6 separate regions of the Homo sapiens genome follow, and all the other regions are linked to region 6. The links are contacts of gene promoters, found by promoter capture Hi-C in blood cells and fetal thymus (Javierre and others, 2016). All regions are on one chromosome and are shown on one strand. The core of a region is centred on a gene start or on the middle of the fragment in contact, and the rest is flanking DNA. Distances in the headings are between cores, read along the strand shown.

What was found. The method cuts DNA at HindIII sites, captures the fragments that hold promoters and counts their contacts. A CHiCAGO score of 5 or more calls a contact.
Region 1: a fragment that was not itself captured here is called in contact with the fragment with the promoter of GIMAP8 in region 6 in 1 of 17 cell types (M1 macrophages); the score reaches 5.2 in M1 macrophages.
Region 2: a contact is called between a fragment that was not itself captured here and the fragment with the promoter of GIMAP8 in region 6, in 1 of 17 cell types (monocytes). The highest score is 5.3, in monocytes.
Region 3: a contact is called between a fragment that was not itself captured here and the fragment with the promoter of GIMAP8 in region 6, in 1 of 17 cell types (M2 macrophages). The highest score is 5.3, in M2 macrophages.
Region 4: a fragment that was not itself captured here is called in contact with the fragment with the promoter of GIMAP8 in region 6 in 4 of 17 cell types (M2 macrophages, M1 macrophages, naive CD4 T cells and 1 more); the score reaches 10.0 in M2 macrophages.
Region 5: a fragment that was not itself captured here is called in contact with the fragment with the promoter of GIMAP8 in region 6 in 17 of 17 cell types (activated CD4 T cells, M1 macrophages, M0 macrophages and 14 more); the score reaches 28.3 in activated CD4 T cells.

Annotation. Positions count from the first base shown.
Region 1 is chr7:150,903,985-150,908,483 of GRCh38, forward strand. No RefSeq gene overlaps it. Among named protein-coding and RNA genes, the nearest start is that of AOC1, 54 kb to the left of the region's middle. The HindIII fragment of the contact is 324 bases long and covers 2,296-2,619 here.
Region 2 is chr7:150,840,250-150,844,418 of GRCh38, forward strand. LOC105375567 (a long non-coding RNA gene) reads right to left here. Exons shown (of 5, transcript XR_928171.3): 2 at 1,141-1,196. Among named protein-coding and RNA genes, the nearest start is that of AOC1, 10 kb to the right of the region's middle. The HindIII fragment of the contact is 8,468 bases long and covers 1-4,169 here.
Region 3 is chr7:150,886,242-150,890,431 of GRCh38, forward strand. No RefSeq gene overlaps it. Among named protein-coding and RNA genes, the nearest start is that of AOC1, 36 kb to the left of the region's middle. The HindIII fragment of the contact is 8,329 bases long and covers 1-4,190 here.
Region 4 is chr7:150,869,830-150,874,090 of GRCh38, forward strand. All of the region lies in intron 1 of LOC105375567 (a long non-coding RNA gene), which reads right to left. Among named protein-coding and RNA genes, the nearest start is that of AOC1, 19 kb to the left of the region's middle. The HindIII fragment of the contact is 8,356 bases long and covers 1-4,261 here.
Region 5 is chr7:150,771,499-150,775,843 of GRCh38, forward strand. The region is part of intron 2 of LOC105375566 (a long non-coding RNA gene); the gene reads right to left. Among named protein-coding and RNA genes, the nearest start is that of TMEM176B, 27 kb to the right of the region's middle. The HindIII fragment of the contact is 1,816 bases long and covers 1,057-2,872 here.
Region 6 is chr7:150,449,141-150,453,559 of GRCh38, forward strand. GIMAP8 (GTPase, IMAP family member 8) reads left to right here and starts at 1,490. Exons shown (of 5, transcript NM_175571.4): 1 at 1,490-2,035. The HindIII fragment of the contact is 1,822 bases long and covers 465-2,286 here.

The DNA of each region.
Region 1 (4,499 bases), core at 1,208-3,707, 460 kb after region 6:
ATTTTAAAACAAACGTCGACTTAGTCTATATATAGCTTTTGCTTAACTTCTTATCAAGAGCATTTACCCTGCTCATAATGTGTGAATGATATTCGTTTATGGATTACAAATACAATAGCGGACAGTTATTACTCTGCTGAATACTTTTTGCTGGCTATTTTATTTAACAAACTACCACGTGGTTTCCCCAAGAACAGTTAGATTCCCCATTTCACAAATGTGGAAGCTGAGGTTTAGAGTGGTTGAATAAATTGTTCACAGTCACACAGCTAGTACATGGCAGGTCCCAACTTTGAGGCCAAATCACCTTGTTTCACAGCCAATGTCATTTCTCTCCATGACCCCTCCTGCCTGTGTACCACAGGTCACAGGTGTGCATGAGGTGTCTGTGTGTCACAGGAGGGCATCACCACTCTCCTCCACCTGGGCTGAGCTATGTCCCTCCAGGACAGTGGTGGAGGATGCTTCCCAGGAGGAGTGACATCCTGTTTGTAAGCCACCAGCTTGTAAGTCATGGAGTTGCCTGTGGTGGCATGGCGGAAGCCTGGCTGTGCTCTGTGGGCCAAGGGCATGAGGGACAGGCAGCCCTTCATGGCAAAGAGCCAAAGAGTAATTCAGAAAACTAGAATTTGAATAGAATCACCTCAACTTTTAAAGACGGCATACCAAAACCCCAAGCAAATATCACATCCAATGGAGAAACCTTAGAAACATCCCCATCTAGATTGGCAAGAAGATAAGGTGCCTGTTAGCATTGCTGCTATGTAACAAAGAGCCAGAGTCAGGGCCACTGTTATAAAACAAGAAAAGGAAATGGGAGGTGTAGAAGTCGGAAGGAGGAAAGAGATTAAAATGTTATTTGTGGACTATATGAAAATTTACATAGAAATTTCAACTAATTATTAAAACTAATAACAGGGTTGCTGGATGGATGTAAAGTCAACTTACAAAGACCAATAACACTTTGTCTATACCACATTAACCACCTATAATATATAGGAGAAAATAAGACATATATACATATAAGAAAATAGGATACCTTTCATAACAGCAACACAACCTATAAAATGCCTGAAAAAAAATATACTAGTCCTCTGTAAAGGAAATTTTTACCCTCTAATAAAGGAGATAAAAGTGGATCTAAATAAACAGAATAATCTGTGTTGTTGGATTGGACAACTTAATATTAAAGTATCAATTCTACCCAATTATTACCACAATTGTCGTCCTAATCAAACTCCAACTGTCCTTTTTTAGGAATGCAATACATTTATTCTAAAATTTATAAGGAAGAATAAAAGTTCCCAAATTACTACCATAATTTTTTTAAAGATGTTACAGGATCTCTGGGGTGTCGACTTTTCTGACTGGAAACCTCTGTGGCCACGGCGCCTTTGCCCGAGTTCTTGTCCTGTGTCCAGGAAGAATGAGGTACACAGACAAGTGATGGGTAAAGAAGAAGAGTTTTATTTAGTGTTAGAACAGCTCAGAGGAGTGGGTAGCTCCTTTCTATAGGCAGGTCCTCCGTTGAGTGTTCCTCTCTCAGCAGAGGAGGCCTGGAGAGGGTGGCTCCTGTCTGCAGGCAAGTCATTCGGAGGTCTCTGCAGGTCTCTGAAACTCTCAGCAGACAGGGTAGCTCCTCTCTGCACACTGGTCATCTCTGCAGCTCTCAGCAGAGAGGGTACTCCTCTCTGCAGCTCTCAGCGTAGAGGGTACTCCTCTCTGCAGCTGGTCGTCCTGTCCCATCATCTCTCTGCCCTCTTCATCTTCTGGCCATCCTCCATGCCTTAAGTCCGGCAGCCGCACTGTTCGCTTTTAACTGGCTGTCAGAGGCCCGGTATTTTTCTTTCATTTTGACTATTGTGGAGCTTAGGGACTCCGAAGAAAAGGACAGAAAGATTTGCTTTTACTCACCCTTCCACAGATCCCAGATGAGCCAAGAAGAATGTATCTCACCAGAAGGAAGATAACCCAAAAATCATAGTAATAAGAAGGTAAAGTGCTGGCATCATAAACCAAAATAGAGAACTTGGATATAGACCCACGTGTGTACAAGAACTTGGTTTATGGCAGAGAAGCCACCACAAGTCAGTGTAGAAAGAAGAACATGTGTAGCAAATGATTGCTGAGAAAACTAGCTCCTTAATAGGGGGTGGAGGGTGTTGGATTCCCACCACACCCATATGCAGAGGTGGGCTCCAGGTGAATTAAAGATCTCAATGTGAAAGATGTAACTATAAAGGCAATAGAAAAAATTACAATCATGTATTTGATACCTGGGGTTGGATTCAGGGAAGCTTTCATAAGAAAGACCTAAAAAGCACAAACTATAAGGCAAAACTTGATGTTTTCCCTATATAAAAATTAAGAATTTATATTCAAAACTGGATTTCCAAATGCAAAAGAATGAAACTGGACTCTTGTCTTACACCATACACAAAAATCAACTCAAAATGGATAAAAGATCTTAAAGGTAAGACCTGAAACCATAAAACTCCTAGAAGAAAACAAGCGGGAAAAAGTTTTCGACATTGGCCCTGGCAATGACTTTTTGGATACCACACCAAAACTCAGGCTACAAAAGCAAAAATAAATCAATGGGACCGCATCAAACTAAAAAGCTTCTGCACAGCAAAGCAAACAATCGACAACAAAAAAAAAGGCAACCAACAAATCAGAGAAAAATATTTGTAAACCATGTATCTAATAGGGAGTTAATATCGAAAATGCCTTTTAAAAACGCATACAACTCAACAGCAAAAACAACAAACAATCCACTTTAAAAATGGGCAAAGAACCTGAATAAACATTTCTCCAAAGAAGACATAGAAATGGCCAGCAGATATATGAAAGATGCCCGACATCACTAATGATCAGGTAAATGCAAATCAAAACCACTATGAGATACCACCTCACATCTGTCAAGGTGACCATTACCAAAAAGACTAGAGATTACAAGTGTTGGTGTTGGTGTGGAGAAAAGGGAACCTTCCTTGTACACTACTGGTGAGAATATAAGCTCGTTTAGCCATTATAGTAAACAATATAGAAGCTCCTCAAAAAAATTAAAAATAAAATTACCTTATAATCCAGCAATCCCATTACTGGCCATATACCCAAAGAAAATGAGATCACCACCTCATAAAGATATCTGCACTCCCAAGTTCATTGCAGCATTATTCACAATAGCCAAGATACAGAAACAGCCTAGATGTCTGTCAGTGGACAAATGGATAAAGAAACTATGGTATGTATACACAGTGGAATATTAATTAGGCTTTATAAAGGAGATCCTGCCATTTGACACAATGTAGACAGAGCTGGAGGACATTATGCTAACTGAAATAAGCCAGATACAGAAAGACAAATATAGTGGATCAAACTTATATGTGGAATCTTAAAAAAGAAAAAAAGAAAGAAAGGCAAATACACAGAGATAGAGAATAAAACAGTGGTTACCAGGAGTAAGGTGGGAGAAAGAAATGGGAAGATGTGAGTCAAAGTACACAGAATAGCAGATATGTAGGATGGACAAATCTAAAGATCCAGACATGAGGACTTTGGTTACTAATAGTGTATCACATTGGGAATTTTTGCTAAATGAGTATATTGTAACTACTCTTACCAAAAAAAAAGTGCTAATATAAGATGATGGATATGTTACTTTACTTCACTATAGTAATTATTTTACTATCTACATGGATCTCGTAACATCATGTTGTATGCCTTAAATATACACAATCAAATTTATTTTTTAAAAAATCTAATTGATACAACTCAGCACTCTGGAGGACCCACCATAGGTAAAAGTTAACTTATTATGACCATTCAGGGGCAAAAAGAATTTCTATTTAAGGGATACCGTAGACAAGGCCAGGTGCAGTTGTTCACACCTATAATCCCAGCACTTTGGGGGGCCAAGGTGGTTGGATTGCTTGAGCTCAGGAGTTTGAGACAACCTGGGCAACACTGCAAAACCCCGTCTCTACCAAAAATACAAAAATTAGCTGGGCATGGTGGCACATGCCTGTGGTCCCAACTACTGGAGAGTCTGGGAGGATCACTGGAGCCCAGGAAGTTGAAGTGTCAGTGAGCCATGTTTGTGCCACTGTGCTCCAGCCTGAGTGACATAGCAAGATCCTGTCTCAATCAATCAATCAATAAAGAATACCATAGACAAAACTAACATATGGAAGCCTGATTAGAAAAAGGCATTTGCAATGTCTAAAAGTGAGTAAGTATTAATGGCCGGCCACCATAGCTCATACCTGTTATCCTAGCACTTTGGGAGGCCAAAGCAAGAGAATCACTTGAGCTCAGGAGTTCAAGACCATCCTGGGCAACATAGTGAGACCTCGTTTCTATTTAAAAAAAAAAAAACTGACTAAGCATTAACAGAACATACAAGAAAGGAAAGCTAATAGAAAATTAAAATTACAGTGACAGAAACATTTAATCCCATCAGAATGGAAAACCTAGGAAAGTATATATAATTGGCA
Region 2 (4,169 bases), core at 1,276-3,775, 390 kb after region 6:
GCTCAGGAGGAGAGTCAGGGCGTCTGGAGGCAATTGCAGTTTTCAGGCCAAATCACAAGGGCTTAAATGTAGACCAGAAGTTCTCAGCAGGGCAGCAGTTTTGCCTCCCAGGAAATGACTGGTAATGTCTGAAGACATTTTTGGTTGTCCTGATAGGGCGGTGGCTGCTTTTGGCCTCTAGTGGGTTGAGGCCAGAGATGCTGCTAGACGTCCTACTACACACAGGACAGGCCCGTGAGCATGATCAGGCTCAAACTATCAATGGTGCCAAGGTTAAAAATCCTTGATGTAGACAATGATAGCAAAGACCGTGAGGCTGGAAAGAAATCCAGAGCTATTTAGGAATTAGAACAGGAAGAACTTCAAAACCAGTTAGATACTGACAAGGAGCCAATTGCTATATCTTGAAGGAAATTGTGCAGTCTTTGTTTGTTGTTGTTGTGGTGGTGGTGGTGGTGGTGGTTGTTGTTTTGAGACAGGGTCTCGCTCTGTTGCCCAGGCTGGAGTGCAGTGGCGCAATCACAGCTCACTTCGGCTTCGACTTCCTAGGTTCATTATGCTTTTGGGTTAATTTCTTACCAGTGGTATCTGTGATAAATTACAGATTGACAGGGCCACCTCATCAGTAAAGGTGGCTGGAAGATACCACCTTGGTGAGTGAGCAGGTCCAAGCCCCGGGCTGGTTACAAAGCCAGCTGGTTCTGGAAGTTTTGATTCCTGAGATGGCCAACAACTTACTCACATGCAGAGGGAAAATAACACTTAGAAAGAAAAATAAGAGTTTTGAAAAGAGAGGGGGGTGAATGAAAAGCCTTTAGGGAAACTGGCTTGTTACTAAGACAGATGTGAACTAAACAAGACAGACGTGAACTAAACAAGACAGACGTGAACTAAACAAGACAGACATGAACTAAATCAACTCTCTGATCTTATGGAGCAGGGGAAGGGGAAAAGTCAAGGAGCCCTCACACACACTCACCACATCTCAGGGCCCCTGGAGTCCTCTGTATTACCCGCATTCATACCTCCCCAACTGTAACCATCATCATCATCATAGCTAACCATGATCATCATCATCATAGCTAACATTTATTGAGTGATTTCTATGTGTCAAAAACATTAGTTAGGTGCTTTACATACCTTTTACCTCATCTGATGCCAACAATTTTGTCACACCTTCATATCCATTATTGTGCCTGTTTCACAAATGAGAAAACTGAGTGAGGTTTAAAAAATTAACTTTTTTTTTTTTTTTTTTTTTGAGACAGAGTCTTGCTCTGTCGCCCAGGCTGGAGTGCAGTGGCGCAATCTCTGCTCACTGCAAGCTCTGCCTCCCGGGTTCATGCCATTCTCCTGCCTCAGCCTCCCAAGTAGGTGGGACTACAGGCGCCCGCCACCACACTTGGCTAATTTTTTTTTGTATTTTTAGTAGAGACGGGGTTTCACCGTGTTAGCCAGGATGGTCTCGATCTCATGACCTCGTGATCTGCCTGCCTCGGCCTCCCAAAGTGCTGGGATTACAGGCGTGAGCCACGGCACCCGGCCAAAAAATTAACTTCTTTACCCTAGGGGCAGGGCAAGATGGCAGAATAAAGGACTCCACCAAACATCCCCACCCCTACACAAGAACACCAAGTTTGACAACTATCTACTCAAAAGGAGCACTTTCATAGGAACCAAAAATCAGGTGAGCACTCACAGTGCCTGGTTTTGACTTCAAATTCCTGAGAGAGGCACTGAGGAGGGTGAGAAGGACAGTCTTGAGTTGCTGATGCCACCCTTCCCCCATCCCCTGGCAGTGGCTACATGGCACAGAGAATCTGTATATACACTTGAGAGAGGGAGAATGCCATGACTGTGAGGCTTTGCATTGAACTCAGTGCTGCTATGTCACAGCGGAAAGCAAAACTGAGCTATACTCAGCTGACACCACGGAGGGAACATGTGGACCAGCCCTGGCCAGAGGGTACTCACCCAGCCCAGCAGTCAGAGCATGAGTTCCAGCAAGCCTCACCCCCATTGGCTGCAGTGCTTTGGGACCCTAAGTGAACTTGAGGAGCAGTCTACGCAACAAGGACTGCAATTCCTAGGCAAGACCTAGTGCTGAGCTGGGCTTGGAGTTAGTGAACTGGTGGGGCACATGAGACACCAACTGTGGTGTCTAAGGAAGTGTTTGCACCACTCCTTCCCCAACCCCAGGCAGCACAGCACACAGCTCCAAAAGAGACCCCTTCCTTCTGCTTGAGGAGAGGGAAGAGTAAAGAGGATTTTGTCTCGCATTTTGGATACCAGCTCAGCCACAGTATGTTAGGGCACTGATAAAGGCTGTGAGGCCCCCATTCCAGGCCCTAGCTCCCAGACAACATTTCTGGACACACCATGGGCCAAGGGAGCCCATTGTCTTGAAGGATGAGTTCCTATGCCTGGCAACATTCACCACAAGCTGACTGAAGTTCCTTTGGTCCTTAACTGAGCATCAGTGGTAGCCTGGCAGTACTCCCCACGGGCCTGGTGAGGCTCCTCTGCCTGTGAGAATGGGATGTAAGAATGAGAAGGACTGCATCCTGTGGTTTGAGTTCCAGCTCAGCTGCAGTAGAATAGAACAACAGGTAGACTTCTAAGATTTTAGATTCCCATCCATGGCTCCAGATGGCATCCCTGGACCCACTCAGGACCTAGGGGACCTCACCAACCTGAAGGGAAGGATGTAAGCCTGGCTGGCGTCACCACCTTTGCTGATTGTAGAGCCCTAGGGCCTTGAGCAAATAGGCAGTAGCCAGGTAGTGGTTACAGCAGGCCTTGGGCAAGACCCAGTGTTGTGCTGATACTCCATATCCGACCCAGCACAGTCCCAGTGGCGGTGGCCACAGGGGTGCTTGTGTTACTCTACCCCTGGCTCCAGACAGCTCAACACAGAGAGAGAGACTCCATTTGTTTGGGAGAAAGTAAGGGAAGAAAAAAGAGTCTCTGCTTGGTAATCCGGAGAATTCTTCTGGACCTTATCAAAGACCACCAACGTGATACCTCTACAAGTGTGCAAGAACCACGGTGCTACTGGGCTAGGGGTGCCCACTAAAGCAGATACAGCTTAGATCATAGCACCCAAGTCCTTTTGAATACCTGGAAACTGTTCCCAAGGAGGACAGGCTCAAACAAACTCAGACTGCAAACATGGCAATAAATACCTAACTTTTTAATGCTCGAACACTGACGAACATCCACAAGCATCAAAGCCATCCAGGAAAACAAGACCTCATCAAATGAACTAAATAAGGCACCAGGGACCAACCTGGAGAAACAGAGATATCTGACCTTTCAGACAGAGAATTCAAAATAGCTGTTTTGAAGATACTCAAAGAAATTCAAGATAACACAGAGAAGGAATTCAGAATCCTGTCAGAAAATTTAACAGAGATTGAAATAATTGAAAAGAATCAAACAGAAATTCTGGAGTTGAAAATTTCAATTGACATACTGAAGAATGCGTCAGAGTCTCTTAATAGCAGAACTGCTCAAGCAGAAGAAAGAATTAGTGAGAATAGACAGGCTATTTGAAATTATATCGCCAGAAGAGACAAAAAAAATTTTTTTTTAATGAAGCACACCTACAGGATCTAGAAAATAGCCTCAAAAGGGCAGATCTAAGAGTTGTTGGCCTTAAAGAGGAGGTTGAGAAAGAGATGGGGTAGACAGTTTATTCAAAGGGATAGTAACAGAGAACTTCCCAAAACTAGAGAAAAGTATCAAGATCTGAGTACAAGAAGGTTATAGAACACCAAGCAGATTGAACCCAAAGAAGACCACTTCAAGGCACTTAATAATCACACTCCCAAAGGGCAAGGATTTTTTTTAAAAATGATCCTAAAAGCAGCAAGAGAAAAAAAAAAAAAAAACAAGTAACATACAATGGAGGTCCAATACATTTGGCAGCAGACTTTTTAGTGGAAATCTTACAAGCCAGGAGATAGTGGCATGACATATTTAAGGTGCTGAAGGAAAAAACTTTTACTCTAGAATTATATATCTGGTGAAAATATCCTTCAAACATGAAGGAGAAATACTTTCCCAGACAAACAAAAGCTGAGGAATTTCATCAACACCAGACCTGTCCTACAAAAAAATGCTAAAGGGAGTACTTCAATCAGAAAGAAAAGGATGTTAATGAGCAA
Region 3 (4,190 bases), core at 858-3,357, 440 kb after region 6:
ATTTTCTAGGCCACAAAAGAAGCCTCAATAAATTTCTGAGGGTTAAAATCATATAACATATGTTTTCTGACCACATGAAATAAAAGAAATCAATACAAAAAGAAATTTGAGAAATTCACAATAAGTTGAAATTAAACAACATATTCCCTAAATAACAATGGGTCAAAGAAGAAATCCCAAGAGAAATTAGAAAATCTTTGACATGAATGAAAATGAAGACACAATATATAAGACACAGTATAGGATGCAACTAAAGCAGTGCTTAGAAGAAAATTTATATCTATAAATAACTATGTTAAAAAAGAAGAAATTTTCTATCACTAAACTAACCTTCCACCTTAAAACACTAGAAGAGCAAACTCAGCGTAAAGCAAGCAGAAGAAAAGAAATAATAAAGATTAAAACAGAGATAAAGAGAACAGAAAAAAATAGAGAGCATCAATAATACCAAAAGTTAGTTCTTTGAAAAAAAATCAACAAAATGGACAAATCTTTAGCTAGATTGATGAAAGCTAGAGAGAAAGGCTCAAACTGTCAAAATCAGAAATGAAAAAGGGGACATTACTACATTACTACTGTTATGTGATGAAATGTGTCTCCCCCGATAAAAACAAAACTTATATATTGAAGTCCTAACCCCCAGTTCTTCAGAATGTGACTGTATTTGGACGCAGGACCTTGAAAGAGGTAATTAAGGTAAGTGAGGTAATTTGGGAGGACCTAATCCAAAATAATTGGTGTCCTTATTAAAAAAAAAAAGATTAAGACATAGACAATGCACAGCGTGAAGTTCACAGAGAGGAGATGGTCATCTACAAGCCAAGGAGAGAGGCCTGAGAAGAAATTAATTTCCAAGGACTTAATCTTAGACTTCTAGACTCCAGAATCATGAGAAAATACATTTCTTTCTTTTTTTTTTAGTTGAGACAGAGTCTTGCTCTGTCACCCAGGTTGGAGTGCTGTGGCGTGATCTCAGCTCACTCCAACCTCCGCCTCCCAGGTGTCTCATGCGTCAGTGTGAAGAGACCACCAAACAGGCTTTGTGTGAGTAACAAGGCTGTTTATTTCACCTGGGTGCAGGCGGGCTGAGTCTGAAAAGACAGTCAGCAAAGGGTGGTGGGATTATCATTGGTTCTTATAGGTTTTGGGATAGGAGGTGGAGTTAAGAGCAATGTTTTAGGGGCAGGGATGGATCTCACAAAGTACATTCTCAAGGGTGGGGACAATTACAAAGAAACTTCTTAAGGGTGGGGGAGATTATAAAGAACCTTCTTAAGGGTGGGGGAGATTACAAAGTACATTGATCAATTACGGTGGGGCAGAAACAAATCACAATGGTGGAATGTCATCAGTTAAGGCTATTTTCACTTTTGTGGATCTTCATTTGCTTCAGGCCATCTGGATGTATACGTGCAGGTCACTGGGGATATGATGGCTTAGCTTGGGCTCAGAGGCCTGACACCAGGTTCAAGCAATTCCCCTGCCTCAGCCTCCCAAGTAGCTGGGATTACAGGCATGTGCCACCACACCCAGCTAATTTTTGGGTTTTTTTTTGTTTTTTTTTTTTTGAGTAGAGACAGGATTTCACCATGTTGGCCAGGCTGGTCTCAAACTCCTGACCTCAAGTGATCTGCCCACCTCAGCCTCCCAAAGTGCTAGGATTACAGGCGTGAACCACTGCACCTGGCCAGAAAATAAATTTCTATTGTTTAAGCCACCCAATCTGTGATACTTTGTTATGGAGGTCCTAGCAACTAATGCACCAACTTTTCAGAAATAAAAATGATTATAAAACGATACTCTATGCCAGCAAATTAGACAACTTAGAAGAAATGAACATATTTCTAGAAAGACACTGCCAAGACCAGCTCGGTCGGGGAGACCCTAACCCAGTGGTACTAGAAGAATTAAAGACACACACACAAAAACATAGAGGTATGAAGTGGGAAATCAGGGATCTCATAGCCTTCAGAGCTGAGAACCCCAAACAGAGTTTACCCACGTATTGATTAACAGCAAGCCAGTCATTAGCTTTGTTTCTATAGATATTAGATTAACTAAAAGTATTCCTTATGGGAAACGGGATTAACTAAAGGTATCCCTTATGGGAAAGGAAGGGATGGGTCTGGCTTGTTATCTGCAGCAGGAGCATGTCCCTAAGGCCCAGATCTCTCATGCTATTGTTTGTGGTTTAAGAATGCCTTTAAGCGGTTTTCTGCCCTGGGTGGGCCAGGTGTACCTTGCCCTCATTCTGGTAAACCCACAACCTTCCAGCGTGGGCATTATGGCTATCATGAACATGTCACAGTGCTGCAGACATTTTGTTTATGGCCAGTTTTGGGGCCAGCTTATGGCCAGATTTTGGGGGGCCTGTTCCCAACAGACACAACTACTGAAGGTGACTCAAGAAGAAACAGAAAATCTGAATGGACCTATAACAAGTAAAGAGAATGAATTAGTCATGTTAAATTTCCCACAAAGGAAGGCCCAGATCCAGATGGCTTCAAATGGTGAATTCTACCAAATTCTAAAGTAGAATTAAGATCAATCTTTTACAAACACTTCCAAAAAATAAAAGAGAAGAGAGTATTTCTCAACTTATTCTATGGGGCCAGTATTATCCTACACCAAAACCAGACAAAGACATCACAAGAAATGAAAACTACACATCAATATCTCTTATGAGGCCAGTCACAGTGGCTCATGCCTATATCCCAGCACTTTGGGAGGCCGAGGAGGATCACTTGAGGCCAGGAGTTTGAAGCTGCAGTGAGCTATGATTGCACCATTGCACTCCACCCTGGGTGGCAGAGTGAGACCCTGTCTCTATAAAATATATGTATTATATTTTATAATAGATATAAATGTTATATATAGAGAGAGAGATCTTATTAATATAGGTACAAAAATCCTCAACAAAATACCAGCAAACAAAATTCAGCAGTATATAAAAAGGATTACACACCCGGACTAGCTGGGATTTATCCTAGGAATGCAAAGTTGGTTTAACATCCAAAGTTCAACTAATTTAATACATCATATCAGTAGAATAAAGGACAAAACCCACATGATCATTTCAATGGATTCAGTAAAACATTAAGTAAATTCAATACCCTGTCATGATGAAAACACTGAACAAACTAGGAATAGAAGAAACCTTCATCAACCTGATAAAGGGAATCCACCAAAAAAATTCACACACACACACACACACACACACACACACACACACAGCTGAGATCATACTTAATGAGGAAAGACTGAATGCTTTCCTGCTAAGATCAGAAATAAGATAAAAATATCTACTTTTATCACTTCTATTCAACATTGTCCCAGAGGTCCTATTCAGGGAAATTAGGGAAGAAAATTAAATAAGGGCTTTCAGATTGGAAAGGAAGAAGTAAACTATCTCTATTTGCAGAATGCAAGATCAAGATATAAACTGTAGGCTGGGCATAGTGGCTCACGCCTGTAATCCCAGCACTTTGGGAGGCCAAGGCAGTATGATCACTTGAGCCCAGGAGTTTGAGACCAGCCTGGGCAACATAGTGAGCCCCCTCTCTAAAAAATATTTTTTAAATCCAGGCATAGAGGCACATGTCTGTAGTCCCAGCTATTCGGGAAGCTGAGGTGGGAGAATAACTTAATTCAGGAGTTCGAGGCTGCAGTGGACTGTAATTATGCCACTGCACTCCAGCTTGGGTAGCAGAGTGAGACCCTGTCTCTTAAAAGATAAAAATAAAAAATATTGAAATACCTAGAATTAGGGTATGATTTCTTCACTATTACACCAAAAATACAAGCAACTAAAGAAAAAATAGATACATTTGACTTCATCAACATTAAAAATGTTTGCACTTCAAAGGACATTATCAAGAAAGTGAAAGGACAACAACAAGAATGGCAGCAAATATTTATAAATTTATATACCTGGTAAGAGTCTAGTGTCCACCATACACACACACACACACACACACACACACACACCTCAATAATAAAAAGACAACCCAATTAAAGATGGGCAAAGCATTTGAATAGACATTTCTCCAAAGAAGATAAACAAATTGCCAATAAGCACATGAAAAGATGCTCAACATGACCAGTCATTAGAGAAATGCAAACCAAAACCACAGAGCAATGCCATTTCCCATTACTAGGAAGGCTATAATGAAAAAGATAAGACAATAACA
Region 4 (4,261 bases), core at 1,125-3,624, 420 kb after region 6:
GTCTCTACAAAAAATACAAAAATTAGCTGCGTTGGTGGTGCATGCATGTAGTCCCAGCTACTTGGGAGGCTGAGGTGGGAGGATTGCTTGAGCCCGGGAGGCAGAGGTTACAGTGAGCCGTGATTGTACTACTGCACTCCAGCCTGAGCAACAGAGTGAGACCTTGTATCAAAAAAAGGTCTTTGCCCCAGCCATGATCCTAACCCAGCATCCCAATATCACCACAGCCTTCACTGAGCCCCTGCTGAGATGGAAACTTGTCCCCAAGAAAGGAAGTATGGAAATAAGTAGGAGGTAGGGGGGAACTGAGAGCACAGCCTGAATATTCTGAGTTCCCTGTAGCTGCTGGCCTGGCTGTACATTGAGAGGCAATACAGATACAGGTGATGGTTTAAAGGATAGCTCAGGAATCACTCAGATCTCTGTCTCCCTCTTCACATGGCTGGCTTGCCTGGGTGTCTCTGTGTCTTTGCATTTCTCCTTTTATAAGGACACTAGTCATTGGGTTTAGGGCCCACCCTACTCCAGTAGGACCTCATTTTAACTCAATTACATCTGCAAGACTCTAATTCCAAATAAGGTTACGTTCATGGGAACTGGGGATTAGGACTCAAATATATCTTTTGAGGGGGTCACAATTTAGCTCACAATACAAATCTTTTCTATATCTCTACATTTCAGGGAAAGAAATGGACACAGAATTCTAGACAGTCTCACCAGGACTGAGAACAGCCATTTCCCAAGTCACTGGACTCATGGGAAATATGATGGACACTTCCTTAACCTCTATTATATTTCCCTCCTAATGTATCTTCCTGTTCTGCAGCAACTAGAAAGTTAAACTCTCCATTTCCCAGATTGTTTTATATCTAAAGCTCTGTATAGAATTAGTTTCTACCAATCAGGAGCATTTGAGCAAGATCTGGAAGATGAAAGGGATACTGAAACTGCCTTTCTGCCCTTGATGCTGCTGTGTTTGCAGGCGAGGTCAAGGAGTGGCAACAGCATTCCAGTCCCCAGCTTCCCAGGCCTAGAAAGGCAGGGACTGGCAGAATGATCATGCACTTGTGTGTGCTGCAGGGCCCATTCTCCTAGGAACCTGGCCTCCCAACTTGGCCTCCCAACACTTTAGGAAGCTGAAGCAGGAAGATCGCTTAGCCCAGGAGTTTGAGATCAACCTGATCAAAATAAAGAGAACTTGTCGCTTCAAAAAAAAAAATAAAAAGGTTTTTTTTAATTAGCCAGGCATGGTTGTGCACACCTATAGTCTCAACTGCTTGGGAGGCTGAGGCAGAGAATGGCTTGAGCCCAGAAGTTCAAGGCTGCAGTGGAGCCATGATCACACCACTGCACTGCAGCCTGGGTGACAGAGTGAGACCCTGTCTCAGAATAAATACATTAATTAAATAAAACCTCACATATAGAGTTGACTTTTGATGAGATTACCAAAACAATTCAATAGCAAAATAGACTTTCAACAAACAGTGCTGGGACAACTGGATATACACATGTAAAAGAATGAAACCGGAACCCTAGTATTTATCATATATAAAAATTATCTCAAAATGAATCAAAGACCTAAATGTAACAGCTAAAACTCTTAGAATAAAATGTAAGCATAAATCTTCACGACCTTGCCAATTTTAGGCAATGATTTCTGAGATATAACATCAAATGCCCAAGCAACAAAAGAAAAAAATGATAAAATAAACTTCATCAAAATGTAGAAACCTTTGTGCTTCAAAGGATATCATTAAGAAAATGAAAAGACAACCCACAGAATGGGAGAAAATACTTGCAAATCATATATCTGATATGGGTAACCCAATTTAAAAATGGGCAAAGGATCTGAACAGACATTTCTCCAAGGAAGATACATAGTAACCAATATCACATGAAAAGTTGCTCAACATCATTAGTCATAAGGGAAATGCAAATCAAAACCACAATGGGATACCACTTCATCCCCACCAGGATGGCTGTAATCAGAAAGACAGATAACAACAAGTGTTGGTGAGGATGTGGTGAAATTATAAACTTCATACATTGCTGGTGGGAATATAAAATAGTGCAGCTACTTTGGAAAACAGTCTGGCAGTTCTTCAAAAGGTTAGACAGACTACTATAGAATACAGAAATTTCACCCCAGGTATGTGTCCAAGAAATATGAAAATGTGTCCATACAAAAAGTTGTACATGAATGTTTATAGCAGCATTATTTATAATAGTCAAAAAGTTGAAACAAAACAAATATCCAATAACTGATGATTAAATAAACAAAATGTCATATATCCATACAATGGAATATCATTCTGCAATAAGGAAAAATGAAATATTGATACATGCTACAACATGGATGTACCTTGAAAACATTAGCTAAATGAAAGAAGACAAATGCAAAAGACCATGTAGTATATGATTCTACTTATTTGAAGTGTTCATAATATACAAATCCATAGAGGCAGAAAGTAGATTAGTGGTTGCCATGGTCTGGGAGGATTGGGGAGAATTGGATATAGAGTTTCTTTTAGAGGTAATGAAAACATTCTAAAATTGGTTGTGACAATAGATTTAATAAATCTATAAATTGTATAGTATGTGAATTGTATATCAATAAAGCTGTGATATTTTAAAAAGGATATGTTTCAGTATTTGCTGTTAAGTGATAAAGGCAAGTCACAGAATAATAAACATTGTAGAATTCTATTTATATAAACAAAAAACACACTTCCATATGTGTTTTAATGTTTTATGAACATTTACTCATATATTGTTTTTGTAATCTTTAAAAAATTTAATTACAAAAATGTAGCCATCCTAATATATAACAAAATAGAATTCATAGCCAGGAAATATCAAAAGAGATAGAGATATGTTATATCTATAGATGAAAAGAAACTCAAGAAGCATATCAGCTAATTCTAAGGTATGAATCTCATTAGGATCCTAATTTAAGTAAAGAGAATAGAAATATTTATAAGACAATTGGAAAATTAGAACACTGGATATTTGATGGTATTAAGAAATTATTGTTAATTCTTTAGGTTTGATAGGGTATTATGATTATGCTTAAAAAGAATTCCTTATCTTTTATAGATAGATGCTAGTGTATTTACTTTTTAAATGATATTATGTTTGCCATTACCTCAAAATAATCCAGTAGAAGGGGTGTGGAAGAGTTTGTGTAGTATGGATAAAATAAGAGTAGCCATGAGTAGTTGAAGCTGGATGATGGATTTGAGAGGGTTCATTATATCCTTCTCTCTACTTCTGTATCAGCTTGAAAGAGGTATAGTATATCTTGATGAAAGAAACAATAGACAAAGAAGATACAACATGCATAACATATATGCATCTAACAACATAATCTCAAGCAAGAAGAAGAAAACCAACAACATTGCTGATTTTAGTACATAAATCTCAGAACTGATAGATCAAGTAGACAAAAAAAGCAAAGACATAGATTATCTAAATAAGACATTTAATAAACTCATATTTGTATATAACCCTCCACAAACCAAAGAATGCATGTGTATATTGTGTACATATAACATTCACATAAACTGACCAAATAATGATTTTAAAAGAAGTCTCAAATTCTAAAGAATTGAAAGCATACAGACCATGTTCTGAGACCATAATGTAATGAAATATATGAATAAATAAATAAAAAAACCGTGCTCTTTGATAGTATGGCTTAACATTGTAAAGATATCCATCCTCCTCAAATGTTTTTTATAATTCCAATCCCAATCAAAATCCCAACCAGAATTTTTTAGGGGTTAATGAATTTATTCTAAAACATATGAAAAATGGGTTCACAAATGGTGAAATCATTTTTCAGAAAGAAGGACAAAGAAGTGAGACTGGTCCCATCAAATATTAAGTTACACTATAAAGCCATGGAAATTTTTTTAATCATGGTATTGGCTCAAGAGTAGACCAACAGACCAACAGAACCAAAAAGAGCTCAGAGACTCATGAATATAAGGGAATTACGAAGAAACAGGAAAAAACTGACTGTTTAGTAGGTTATAGTGGGGAAAAGCTCCCATAATATGGAGAAAAATAAAACTGCATCCTTACCTGATATAATATACAATGAACTTCAGCAAGAGTAAGAATCTATACATAAACAGTGAAACTAAAAATGTAGGAAAATATTTGTGACCTAAAGGTGGAAATTTTCTTAAACAAGACCTAAAAATCATAAACCACAAGGTAAAAAAATATGTAGATTTGATTTCATTAATATTACAGG
Region 5 (4,345 bases), core at 715-3,214, 320 kb after region 6:
TGGAGAAACCCCATCTCGACTAAAAATACAAAAGGCCGGGTGTGGTGGCACATGCCTGTAATCCCAGCTACTCCGGAGGCTGAGGCAGGAGAATCGCTTGAATCCGGGAGGCGGAGGTTGCAGTGAGCCAAGATCGCGCCATTGCACTCCAGCCTGGGCAACAAGAGCAAAACTCCATCTCAAAAAAAAAAAAAAAAAAAAAAATAGTGGTGAGGTTGGGAAGAAACGCAAAAGATGCTTTAATGCATTGCTGGTAAATGTAAATTATTACAGCCTTTTAAGAAAGCTCTCAATAGGATTTATTTTATTTTAAAATATTTATACACTTTAATGCATCAACCCTATTCCAAAGACTCCGTCTCATGGCAATAAAAGCTCCAGTTAGTATAGTCTGGTTTTGCAGAATTGTTTCTAGAGGCAAAAACATAGGAAGAGAGGTAAAAGTGCATCAGTAGGGATACTCATATTGGTATACTCATATCATGGAAATATTATGCAGCACTAAAAAGGATTATTAGAATGGCTAAAATTAAATACACTGAACACACTGAGTGTTGGTGAAGATGTGGAGGGACTGGTGGTATATAAAATGGTGCAATTGGCCGGGCTCAGTGGCTCACGCCTGTAATCCCAGCACTTTGGGAGGCCAAGACAGGCAGATCACCTGAGGCCAGGAGTTCAAGACCAGCCTGGCCAACATGGCGAAATGCTGTCTCCACTAAAAATACAAAAAAAAAAAATTAGCCAGGTGTGGTGGCAGGCGCCTATAATCCCAGTTTCTCAGGAGACTGAGGCAGGAGAATTGCTTGAACCCAGGAGGCGGAGGTTGCAGTGAGCTGAGATCACACCAGTACACTCCAGCCTGGGCAACAAGAGCAAAACTGCATCTCAAAAAAAAAAAAAAAGTGGTGCAATGACTTTAGAAAACAATTGGCCAGTTTCTTAAAAAGTAATCTTACACACCCATAATATGACTCAGGCATTCCACTCCTAGGTATATTCCTAAGAGAAAAGAAATCATGTGTTCATAAATGTCTTATACCTGATCATTCATAAAGCTTTATCTGCAATAGGCAAAAGTTGGGAATAAACAAAATATCTATCAACAGGTGAATGGATAAACTAACTGTAGCATATCTATACAATGGAATATGACTTCTCAATAAAAAGATATGAGCTACTGATTCACACAACATGGGTGAACCTCAAAATTATTATGCTCAGTGGAAAAAGTCAAACAAAAGGAGTACATATAGTATATATGGTGTGATTCCACTTACTCTAGAAAATGCTCACTATTCTATAGTGACAAAAAGCAAGTCAGTGGCTGCCCGGGGATGGGGGTGAGAAGTGTCAGGAGGAAGGACTGACAAGGGTCATGAGGATATTTTGGGGGGGGCCAATGGATATGTGTCAAAACTTATTAAATCGTACACTTTAAATATGATTCTCTCTCTCCCACTCTGTCTCTCTCTCCCTCTGAATTCTCCCTCTCTCTCCCACTGAAAACTGGAATAAGACAAGGATGACCACTCTCACCACTCCTATTCAATATGGTACTGGAAGTACTAGCCAGAGCAATCAGGCAAGAGAAAGAAATAAAAAGCATTCAAATAGGAAGAGAGGAAGTCAAACTATCTCTGTTTTCAGACAATATGATTTTATATGTAGAAAACCTCATAGTCTCTGCCCAAAAGCTCTTACAGATTCAAGACAAACAACTTTAAGAAAGTTTCAGGATAAAAACTCAATGTACAAAAATTAGTAGCATTTCTATACACAAACAACGTCCAAGCTGAGAGTCAAATCAAGAATGCAAGCCCATTCGTAATAGCCACGCACACAGAAAAAAATAAAATACCTAGGCATTTTCAAATCTCTTTCAGTAAAATATCTTTCACCTCCCTAACCAAGGAGAGTTTTGTAATTCTCAACCCCAGTGAGGCGAAAGATCTCTACAATGAGAATTACAAAACAATGCTCAAAGAATTTAGAGATGACACAAACAGATGAAAAAACATTTCATGCTCATAGATAGGAAGAATCAATATTGTTAAAATGGCCATACTGCCCAAATCAATTTACAGATTCAATGCTATTCCTATCACACTACAAATTACCTTTTTAAAGAATTAGAAGAAACAATTCTAAAATTCATATGGATCCAAGAAAGAGCCCAAATAGTCAAAGCAATCCTAAGCAAAAAGAACAAAGCTGGAGGCATTACATTACCTGACTTCAAACTTTCCTAGAGAGCTACAGTAACAAAAAACAGCACGGTGTGGTACAGAAACAGACATATAGACCAATGGAACAGAATAGAGAGCCCAGAAATAAAGCCACACACCTACAACCATCTGATCTTCAACAAAGTCAACAGAAACAAGTAATGGGGAAAAGACATCCTAGTCAATAAATGGTGCTGGGATAACTGGCTACCCATATGCAGAAGATTGAAACCGGACCTCTTCATTTCACCATATACAAAAATCAACTCAAGGTGGATTGAAGACTTAAATGTAAAACCAAAACTACAAAATCCTAAAAGAAAACCTAGGGAATACCATTCTAGACATAGGCCCTGCCAAAGATTTCATGACAAAGATAACAAAAGCAATTGCAACAAAAACAAAAATTGACAAATGGGACCTAATTAAACTAAAGAGCCTCTGCACAGCAAAAGAAACTACCAACACAGTAAACAAACAACCTACAGAATGAGAGAAAATATTTGCAAACTATGTGTCCAACAAAGGTCTAATAACCAGAACCTATAAGGAACTTAAACAAATTAACAAGCAAAAACCCTTTTAAAAATGGGCAAAGGACATGAACAGACACTTCTCAAAAGAAGTCATATACATGGCCAACAAGCTTATGAAAAAATGAACATTACTAATCATTAGAGAAATGCAAATCAAACCCACAATGAGATACCATCTCACACCAGTCAGAATGGCTATCATTAAAAGTCAAAAAGTTTGGGAGGCCGAGGGGGGTAGATCATGAGGTCAGGAGTTTGAGACCAGCCTGGCCAACATAGTGAAACCCCATCTCTACTAAAAATACAAAAAATCAGCTGGGCATGGTGGCAGATGCCTATAATCCCAGCTACTTGGGAGGCTGAGGCAGGAGAATCGTTTGAACCTGGGAGGCGAAGGTTGCAGTGAGCCAAGATCGCGCCACTGCACTCCACTCCGGGTGACAGTGGGAGACTCCATCTCACCAAAAAAAAAAAAAAAAAAAAAAAATCAAAAAGTAACAGATGCTTGAGGTTGTTAAGAAAAGGGAATGCTTATACACTGCTGATGGAAATGTAAATTAGCTCAGCCACTGTGGAAAGCAGTTTGGTGATTTCTCAAAGAACTTAGAACTACAATTTGAACCAGCAATCCCATTACTGAGTATATACCCAAAGGAATATAAATCATCCTACCATAAAGACGCACACATGCATACGTTCATCGCAGCAATATCTGTGATAGCAAAGACCTGGGATCTACCTAGATGGCCATCAATGGTAGACTGAATAAAGAAAATTGCTACATATATACCTGTATATGGAATACTATGCAGTCATAAAAATGAGATCATGCCTTGTGGCAACATGGATGGAGCTTCAGCCCATTATCCTAAGCAAACTAACACGGGAACAGAAAACCAAATACCACATGTTCTCACTTACAAGTGGGAGCTAAACACTGAGCACACATGAACACAAAGAAGGGAACAAGAGACTCTGGGGCCTACTTGAGGGAGAAGGGTGGGAAGAGGGTGAGGATCAAAGAACTACCTATTGAGTACTATGCTAATTGCATAGGTGATAAAATAATCGGTACACCAAATCCCCATGACACACAATTTACCTGTACAACAAACCTGCACACATACCCCTAATCCTAAAATAAAAGTTGGGGGAAAAGAAACAATAGATGTTGGCATGGATGTGGTAAAAAGGGAAATTCGTATAATCTCTATGGAAAACAATGTGGAAATTTCTGAAAGAACTAAAAGTAGATCTACCATTCAATCTAGCAATCCCACTACTGGGTATCTACCCAAAGGAAAAGGAGTCATTATATCAAAAAGACACTTTCACATATATGTTTATTGCAGCACAATTCATAACTGCAAAGATATTAAACAAACCTAAGGGCCCATTAACTGATGAGTAGATAAAGAAAATGTTTTATATATGTGTGTGTGTATATATATGTATGTTATACATACACACATGTGTATGTATAACATATATATACCATAAGATTTTATATATACACATATATACATATACATATATTATATATATATATATTCACCTTAAATGAGACAAGCCAGGCACAAA
Region 6 (4,419 bases), core at 240-2,739:
CTGCCTCTGTTAGTACCCCAGCGGGGATGAACTGCAGTACCTGGCTTCGGGTTTTTGTCTTTTCATTATAATGAGTTGGTTTTATGTGCGTTGACCTACTGTAAAGGAAGGGTGGGGTTCTTCCAAAATAGATCCTCTTTCAATGAGGAGACAGGTAGAGTGGGACATGGGAAGGGCTTTGTCAGCTTTCCCCATCAAGATGTGTCCTGTGTGTCCCCAAAGCTCTTCTTGAGCCATCCCAGCATAACCAGGGTTTCCCTCAGGTTCATAACAAGGTAGAGCAGTCCTCAAGGCTGGCGCATGAAGACCAGTCCAGGGGGAGGGTGGATCCCTCGGGATGTGATAGGCTGACAGCAGCTCCCCAAAGCCTGTGGTTTTGACTACTGTAGAGACTTCATATCTGAAGCATGCCCCTCTACTTCAGCCACCCCCACTGCTCCTCCTTCTGCGGGGTCCCTTTGGAAAGCTTAGCACCACCTCAGACATTTGGAAAACTAACTTGAGCTCCAGTCCCTCGAGGCCCTAGCCTCTGCATCCTGTGAAGAGGGCCCTGCTGTGCAGAGCGCAGAGGGTCCCGCACTCACTTGGATGAACCTCTAGGGCATTCTGCTCAGTCTCAGGAGGGCAGACACTGTGGGACTCCACTCACATGAGTATCTGACGTTGCCAAAAATCATAGAAACAGGCCGGGTGTGGTGGCTCACACCTGTAATCCCAGCGCTTTGGGAGGCTGAGGCAGGTGGATCACTTGAGGTCAGGAGTTCAAGACCAGCCTGGCCAACATGGTGAAACCCCGTTTCTACTAAAAATACAAATATTAGCCGTGTGTGGTGGCGGGAACCTGTAATCCCAGCTACTCGGGAGGCTGGGGCAGGAGAATTGCTTGAACTCGGGAGGTGGAGGTTGCAGTGAGCCGAGATCACACCATTGCACTCCAGCCTGGGCGACAGAGCAAGACTCTGTCTCAAAAAAAAAAAAAAAATCATAGAAACGGAAAGTAGAACGGTGGTTACCCGGGCTGGGGTTCGGGGAGGTGAGTTGGGGTGTAATGGGGAGAGTTTGGGTGCTGCAGGATGAAAAGTCCTGCAGATCTGGCACACAACCATGTGAATGTACTTTCTACTGTGGGCTATACACTTAGAAATGGTTAGGATGGTACTATTAATGTTACATCATTTTTACCCTAGTAAACATTTTTTAAGAAGTCTTCCTCCGTGTTTGACTTCCTTATGAAGTAGAGACCAGGTAGTTTGGACACTATGTTCTTTCACAAAAGGGATTTCATTTTGTGAAATATTTGAAAGCATCGAAGTCTAGCATTTCACGTTTTGCAAGCTGGGGAAAAGCATTCATTCCCTGAGAAGCAGCGTTGGTCTGTCAGGCTTGGAGTTCCCCGGGTTGTGGGTTTTAGGGAAGGGAAGGGAAGCGAGGAAGGACTTGTGAGAGGAAGTCCTAAAGGCCACTTAAGGGCACACAGAGGCCCGGAGCTGGCTTTGCTCAGAGCTTGTAGCGGCGCCACAATCTCTGTCCTCTCAGGAACAGGAACTGGCTTGACGTCCTTTTCCTGCCCTATCCAAGCCCCTGTTCTTGCAGCCCTTCTGAAGCTCAGCCTGGCACCGGCCCCGGCGCCCCAGCCCCTGGCCAAGCCTCTGCTGTCATTTCTCCTCCCTCCTCTCAGTCTGCAGCTGCGGGACGGGCCGGGCTCCTCAGTTTCTGCTGTGTTGTGACCCCACGAGGCGCTCAGCACCCAGGGAAGGCGCGTGTGTCCCCGATGCTGGCTCCTCCCTGAGCCCCGACGGCTCTCGAGGTTCTGAGCCTGTGGCCTGCACAGGGAACTTCCTCTCCGACTGCATTTATGCCTCTGTGGATGTGAAGGCTATTTCTAGAAATCTCTTCCTTTGCAGAAACACCCGAAACCCTCCTGCCAGGAAGACCAGGGCCTGGGAAGAGGGTCGCTCTCCGGCCATTCTCCCCTCACCCTCCTCACCTTCCTCACATCCTGTGCCCTGGGGGACCAGCAGCTGCTTCCACCCAGGTGAGAGATGGAGGGATAGAGCCAGGTGGATTGCGGAGCCTCGGAGACTGTGGGACGCCGTGGGACCCCATGGGACACGACCGCAGTGCATGTGTGACATGTGCACTCGTGTGTAGATGTGTGTGCACTGGTGCATGGCTGTGGGGGAGGATGGGCTTGGCACCGGGAAGGCAGCCTGCTCAGCCATGGGAGAGGAGGCTGGGTTGAATGGCAGGGTTGAATGGCAGAGTTGAATGGCAGGGGCCCTGGGAAGCTTTCCTCCTGGTCCAAAGCGTGTCTCCCCAGCCTGCTGGGGAGTAGATTCGGCAGGATGGGGACAGAGGCATATTCCCAGACATCTATGAGAGTGGCTGTCCTAAAAGAAGGCGTGTCGGGGAGTGGGTGTGAGCCCTGAAGAGGAGGAGGGCTGAGACTGGCAGAAGGGAGGAAGAAGCAGGCGGAAGCAGCCGGTCAGATGCCCCATGAAGCTAGATGGTGCCGCAGAGCAGCCCCCAGGAGGAAGCCAGCGGAGCTCCTCCCGCAAAGCAGGGGGTGGGGGATGCTGATTTTTCCACGTCTGCTTTTCTGATCTTTCCTGCCCCTTGCACAGTTAGGATTCTGTGAACTGGGCATTGGAGGGATTGGAGGGGTCAAGACCTTACCAAAAGCAATATTTCTGATTTCACCTACATTTCAGCCAACCTGGTCCTCAGCAGTTAACCTCTTCCCTTCCTCTTGATGGTTGCCCTGCTGGGCTGGGTCTAAGGTCTTCCCCACGCTGGGCTCTGGAGGCATCTCCAACCACCCTGCTCTGTAAGTGGGAACTGCGATTAGATGTGGGATGAATCCCCGCATGGCTGGATGCTGTGCTCAGATGCCTGAGTCCACGTTTGCCTTGGGCTGTTTCCTGAGAAGGAGGCAGAGGCTGCCTTTACAGTCTTCAGTGAATTATAGGAAGAACGCTCTCTTTTTCTCTCAGTTGCTCTGCTGGGGTCTCCAGAGTGGCCTGGGAAATTGAGCAGAGGGAAATGTGGGCTGGCAGAGCGTGAGTGAGGGTGAGTTTGGGTACCTTTTTGTCCTTAAGTGCACTTTCTACATGTTGGGGTGAAGTGCTACTGGCTGGGAAGCTGTATGTGTGGTAGGAGTGTGCATGTGCGTGTGTGTATGTGGGTGTGTGTGTGTAGGTCCTGACATCATGTGGAGCTGCAGGCAGGAGTCCAGCCAAGACTCATTGGTTTGGTCATACTCTGCTGGGGAACCATGCAAGGCTGTGTCGCTTAATTGGGAAAGAAATTTCTTTCTTCTTCAGACCTGTGGGAGGCCTCTGCTTCCTTCAGCTTGCTGTTTTCTCACTAGTGTCTTTTTTTCTTAAATTAATTTACAGAGACATCTCACTTCACTTGCATATATATGTGTGTGTGTATGTATATATGTATATATATGTATATATGTATGTATATATGTATATATGTGTATATATGTATATATATGTGTGTATATGTGTGTGTGTGTGTGTGTGAGATATATATATATATATATATATATATATATATATACATGCGAGTGGAACTACAGGCACCCACCACCATGCCTGGCTAATTTTTGTACTTTTAATAAAGACGGGGATTTCATCATGTTGACCAGGCTGGTCTCAAACTCCTGATCTCGAGGGATCTACCTGCCTTGGCCTCTGAAAGTGTTGGGGTTACAGGCGTGAGCCACTGCGCCCGGCCTCCCTCTCAGTTCTAAAAACCGTTTTTCTTCTTTTCTTCACATTTCTGTCTCTCCTGTGATCGTTCATTCCTTTACCTCCACGTATTGGGCATATACTACATGCCAGGCACAATGTTAGGGCCTGGGGACACAGAACAAAACAGGCATGTTTGGAGTTTCAGCACATGCTGTTATGGAGCTTTGTACCAAGGGTAGTACAGAGAACATTTAGACATTTAAAAATAAAATTAATAAATAATTATAAAATATAAATAATATCAGATAGAATCAATGTTATGAAGAAAATTGAGGAGAGAGAGGAGATAGGGCATTAGTGTGAGAGCTTCTCTCCATAGGGTGTATCTGGGTGAAAGATGCTCTTAGAAGATCCCCGGTGCTGATTAGGTTTGAACCCACCGGAAATATTTTTCCCCTGGTGGACCGGTTCTGAGGTTCTGAGGTGTCTGAAGCTGCGGTGGGCTCTGCCCCGTGCCGTGCAGCCATCCAGATGATTCCAGAGAGAGGCCTCTGCCAAGGCCCTTGTGGGCTTTGCCTCGCCCTTTTCGAAAGTGGGCCCTGCCACTGCCTTTACTACCTCCCTGGGTCATTCCCTGCAGTGCAGCCTCTCCCCTGAGTGCCACAGACCCCATTTTTTGAAAAGGTATGAACCACCAAATTGCTGCACAGAAAAA